Linked DNA regions of Homo sapiens: region 1 is linked to region 2. Evidence: promoter capture Hi-C in human tissues and cell types (Jung and others, 2019). All regions are on one chromosome and are shown on one strand. Each heading gives the region's core, a stretch centred on a gene start or on the middle of the fragment in contact. The rest is flanking DNA. Distances are from core to core; before and after follow the strand shown. Region 1 has its middle 36 kb from the start of ZNF24TR. Region 2 holds the start of INO80C (INO80 complex subunit C).

What was found. Contacts are between HindIII fragments. The study calls those that stand out against the background at their distance.
Region 1: a contact is called between a fragment that was not itself captured here and the fragment with the promoter of INO80C in region 2, in 2 of the 25 tissues and cell types used here (IMR-90 fibroblasts and liver).

What each region holds. Positions count from the first base shown.
Region 1 is chr18:35,429,877-35,432,576 of GRCh38, reverse strand. No RefSeq gene overlaps it. Among named protein-coding and RNA genes, the nearest start is that of ZNF24TR, 36 kb to the left of the region's middle. RefSeq lists a silencer at 141-354. The HindIII fragment of the contact is 7,027 bases long and covers 1-2,700 here.
Region 2 is chr18:35,496,580-35,499,279 of GRCh38, reverse strand. It overlaps INO80C (INO80 complex subunit C), which reads left to right and starts at 1,320. Exons shown (of 5, transcript NM_194281.4): 1 at 1,320-1,561. The coding sequence starts at 1,406. RefSeq lists enhancers at 1,143-1,412, 1,763-1,882, 2,153-2,302. The HindIII fragment of the contact is 7,991 bases long and covers 1-2,700 here.

The DNA.
Region 1 (2,700 bases), core at 2-2,501, 67 kb after region 2:
TACATGTTTGCTGCTGTTATAGACTAAAAGTTTTCCCCAAACAAAAATGAACTGATCTCTCTCTTTCTGCCTTTACCTCCCCCTCCCTCCCTCATTCTATTTTTCCTTTTGAAATAAGTAGAAAGACCTTTTATATTTTGCCAACCACAAAAAATAGGAAAGAGAAGGAAGCTTTTCACCACGAATGACAGTAGAGTGCTGGCACACGGCGCTTCCTTTCTGTTGCCCTTAGGTGTCTGAAGTGGTCCCCCAACCTCTCTAAAGTTTCAGATTGAGGAATAATCATGAGTTCTGAGAAGTGCTTGAAACTGGAGGATGGGGTCCCAGTGAAGTCAAACAGCACAACCAACACTGAAACCTCTGCAGTTGAACCTCATTAGAGCTGGTCCTCCTCACTTTCTTCCCATCAGTCTCTCTGTCTCAAAGACATTCTTGGCAGAGTTGGAAGGGAATTCCAGCAAGATAATACCATCCAGTGCCCAAGGCAGGGGATGCAGTGTCCATGTGGCCCCCCAAAAGATCACTGCTCCCATGTTCCTGAGAGAGGAACCTGATGGATATCTGAGGTCCCCATGCCAGTCCTCTGATATTGGCCCCACTGAAGAGATTGGTGGCTTGTTGACCACAGCCTGCCCAGGATAAAGGCTGGACTAGTCTTACTTTTGAAGCTGAGCAAATAAATATAGAAGCACAATCCATGCTGTGGCCACAATTTTGTTTTAAATTAAAATTTAAAACAAATTTTAATTTAAATTTGTTTTAATGTAAATTTAAATCCCAAAAACAAATGGCCAGAGACATGCACCATTGTTGGCTTTGAAGATGAAGAAGGGGCCATGAGCCAAGATAAAATGGTTATGTATGCTCGAATGTTTTGCTTGCTCTAATTTGCCCTGCACTTAAATGCTTTACTCAAATTCACTAAAATATAATTCAATAAGTCTTTAAAAGTCACTTTAGTAGGGAAGTAGAACAGCGTTTGTTTATTTGGTTGCTTTCTTGATTTATGCACATATGCAAATAGAAATGTGAGGCATGCATGGAACACGTACACACACACACACACCCTCCAAGAAATAAACATAGCAAAGCATTGCTGTTTAATTAAACTAAACACAAGGTTTGCACCACGTTAATAATACAACTTCCGAATACACAAAGTATATACGTGAGAATGCCAAAGTGTTAGTATTTGGAAATGTTACTGTTTGAAAACCTTACATTCAAGAGGTTTTAGCATGAGCAATAAGCAGCAAGGAACAAGTATAGATAACTGTGTGAGTATGCATGTGCCAGCAATGTCTGGCAATCAGCTATCCAAAAACAAGGAAGTCTGGGAGATAAACCCTTGTTTACAAAATGACAATCTTTGCCTAGAAATGATGCCCAAGAGACAGTTGTGCGTCAACCAACCACAAGCGGTTTTGTTCTTGTTTTGTTTTTTAGGTTTTCCCTTTTCCACACATTCTCTAATAAATCTGAACAAACTAACTTTGACATTTCCTAATGTTTCAAAAAAGGAAGTAAGCTAAAGTCATAAAACACCTTGCTCAACAATAATTTTCTTGGGTTTTTAATCTTGCTTGGAACAGATAGGCGTGATTCACATCCAAGTCAACATGGCCTTTTGTAAGCTGACTCACAGAGAGGGGATGCTGGGGACCCTACCCTCATCCTGGTGGCTCTTCTCTATTTGAGCCCCAGCAAAGGCCACCAGCAGTGGGCACCAGCCACCTTATCAGATGGGCCAAAGACTTGTTGTCATCACTGATTTACATTTCTATAATTTTTTTAAAGTTACATAGTGATTTTTTCCATCAACGAGGGCCCATTTGGCATTACTGAATCTCTGTTTAGAGAGAAAAAGGAAGGGCCTTTTCCTTCTCCAAACAAATTCTGAATGCAGCCAAGACTGGCAAGTCATGCAAAGGAGTTTCTCAGTTTGCCTTGCACCTTTTTGTGAAGATTTCATATCTCTTTTATTTATGATAGTGACACTGGAAAACTTTCCTTGAAGTTTCTTATGCAGAACTTGAATCCCTTCTCTCATGGTTTTTCCAGTCCTGTTATTATTGGCATCTCCTGGCTCCTACCCCTAACCATATGCCTAAAACCTATGGATAAATAATTGAGGAGGGGACTGTGGCAGACACCCCCTCAAAAATGTTCATGTCCTAATCCCTGGTACCTGTGACTGTGTTAGGTTACATGGCAAAGCAGAATTAAAGTTGTGGATGAAATTACGGTTGCTAGTGAGCTGATGTTAAAACAGAGAGAAAAATCTAGATTATTCAAGTGGGCCCAATATAATGTTAAGGGTCCTTAAAAGTGAAAGAGACAGTCAGAAAGGAAAATGTAAATACCAAAACAAATGGCCAGAGACATGTACCATTGTTGGCTTTGACGATGAAGGAAGGGGCCATGAGCTAAGGAATGTGGTGGCTTCTAGCAACTGGAAAAAGCAAGGAAACACATTCTCCCCTAGAGCCTCCAGAAAGGAAGCAGGCCTGCTGTCACTTTAATTTTAGCTCACTAAGACTGATTTGGGCCAGGCGTGGTGGCTCACGCCTCTAATCCCAGCACTCTGGGAGGCCGAGGCAGGTGGATCACCTGAGGTCAGGAGTTTGAGACATCCTAGCCAACATAGTAAAACCCCGTCTCTATTAAAAATACAAAAATTAACTGATGTGTGGCACACAC
Region 2 (2,700 bases), core at 71-2,570:
TTTCTCTAAAGGAAAAAATATGTCAGTAACAATATTGCAAGTTTCCCTAACTGCTCCTTCTCTCTCACCTCTAAGTCATTGTGCAGCCTGTTTATTTCAAATATCAAGACTCATATACATCAACTTCCTGTATTCAAACATAGTAGCTTCCACCAATCACTGCAGGGAGTTAGTTCATTCGTTAAATACATCATTAAAAATACTTATAATGCACCAATGACTTGCAAGGTACTGTGATTGGGGGGACTGATAAGTTAACAAGACATAACTGACCCTTCCCTCATACAGATTACATTCTAGCAGGAGCCAAAAAAGACATTAACCATCCGATTATAAATCATTTAGTTATATGATGTCGCAAAGGTTCTGTAAAAATATAGGGTAGAATGAGGCAAAGAACAAGGCGGGTAGGGGGACTCAGGTTCCTAAATAGGTTTTAGTAGATCTGTGACCTCCCTGAAATCTGTAAAATTTTGTCTGTGTCTGTATACATTTAATGGGGTGGTGGGGAGGTGGGGGTGTGCGGCAGGGATAGGAAGCACAGATTCCATGCTCAAGAGTCTGTGAATCCTAAGAGATTAAGAACCGGCCGGGCGTGGTGGCTTACGCCTGTAATCCCAGCACTTAGGGAGGCCGAGGCGGGCAGATCACCTGAGGTCGGGAGCTCGAGACCAGCCTGACCAACATGGAGAAACCCCGTCTCTACTAAAAATACAAAATTAGCCGGGCATGGTGGCACATGCCTGTGATCCCAGCTACTCGGGAGGCTGAGGCAGGAGAATCGCTTGAACCCGGGAGGCGGAGTTTGCAGTGAGCCGAGATCGCGCCATTGCACTCCAGCCTGGACAACAAGAGCGAAACTCCGTCTCAAATAAAAGAAAAAAAAAAAGGGAGAGATTAAGAACCACTCTACCCTTCATGTCCATTTGGGCGCTATTTATATACAAACCTTTTCCGCGTGGGAAGGCAGGGAGGGATAGAGGGAGAAGCCAGTAGCTTGGCGGTCTACTGAGAACGACCCCAGCTTTAGGCTTACAGACATCAAAAGTAATCACTCTTCTATATGAGAAAAGACAACACGCTCATTAATTTTTTAAAACGTAGTTACTTAAAAAGATTGGGAGATTTTCTATTCCTCTATCAATGGGGATTTCCAGGCACGTGCCCCACCCAAGGCCCACGCCCAGAGCGCCCGAGTGGCAGGACAACGCCCGCTGACATCTTCCCGTCCCGACGGCACAGGCTACTCCGAGCTCCGCCTTTTAGATTGCACCGAGAGAAGCCAGCTACAGCTTGGAGTCCAGGCCGGGTTTTCAAGCATCAAGACGGAAGTAACAGCGGAAAGGAAGTTCCAAGGCCCGCGCTGGGAAAAAGGTGGGGGGACCAGGGGAAGACTCGGAGTGCGATGGCGGCGCAAATTCCAATTGTGGCCACCACTTCCACTCCCGGAATAGTCCGGAACAGCAAGAAGAGGCCGGCCAGCCCTTCCCACAATGGCAGCAGCGGCGGGGGCTATGGCGCCAGTAAGAAGAAAAAAGCGTCCGCTTCCAGCTTTGCGCAGGTACGCAGTCGCGCTCCCAGGCTGCGCGTGCGCGTCGCGAAACGGGACTTGGCGGGGCGGAGCCGAGCCAGGGCGCGTGCGTAATGTGGGGCGCTGCGCGTGCGGTCTCCGTTGGGGTTGAAAGACGCTGCCCCGCGGAGTGAATGACTACTCTTTCCCTTCGTTTGGACACATGGGCTTACAACGCCTTGTGTTGTAAGGAGAGAAGAAGAAGTAGGGAGGTTATTACTGACTTAGTATTAATAGAAGGACTGCCTCTTCCCCTCGAGGTCGCCTTTAGCATGAGGTTCAGGACTAATGAGTGTCAGTCATTCAGAAATTTGCGTGTCTTCCCCTCGTCCATTCTGCAGACATCTACCCAGTGTCTTTGAGGCGCATAGCGCTGTAATGTCCTGCATGGATGAATACAAGATGTATTGATAAGTATGCTTTCTCTCATCCTGAGAAAAGTGCTTTTTTGACCCTGGGTTTCCCAATCCAAAGGCAGGTTTGGTCTTAACTCATGGGCTTGTTAAGGTTATGAAGTAATGAGTGTAAAGGCACTGAGCTCAGCGCCTGGCTCAGACGTCAGGGCCTCTGAACAATCTAGGTTCCGTAATTCCAGCAATGAATTTTCAGCAGGGAGTGGCTTGATTAGTGTTTTCTCTGGCTCCTGCATTTTATTCAAAGCAAAAAAGCAGAGATAGAGTGTGTTACTTTGTGCTCCTCAGCATATGGTGTGACACCACCGTTCACCCAGTCAGTCAGTGGCTGTTCTAGAAATCTTGTTCCTTCTTCTGTAGGTGATTGGTAGTGCTTTTTATTTTAACCTTTTAATATTAAATACTTTGCTATAGTAAGATTTACACAGAGTACAATGCACAAATTTTCAAGAATACTGGCTGAACCACAGATCTTCAAGAATCCTGTCTCACGCCTGTATCCCAGCACTTTGAGAGGCCAAGGTGAGAGGATTGCTTGAGGACAGGAGTTCGAGACCTGCTCCCCAACCCCCATCCAAATTTACAAATAGCTGGGCGTGATGGTGCACGCCTTTAGTCCCAACTACAAGAGCATCACTTAAGCCCAAGATTTCAAGGTTACAGCGAGCTATGATCGTGCCATTGCAGTCCAGCTTGGGCAACAGAGTGAGCCTATCG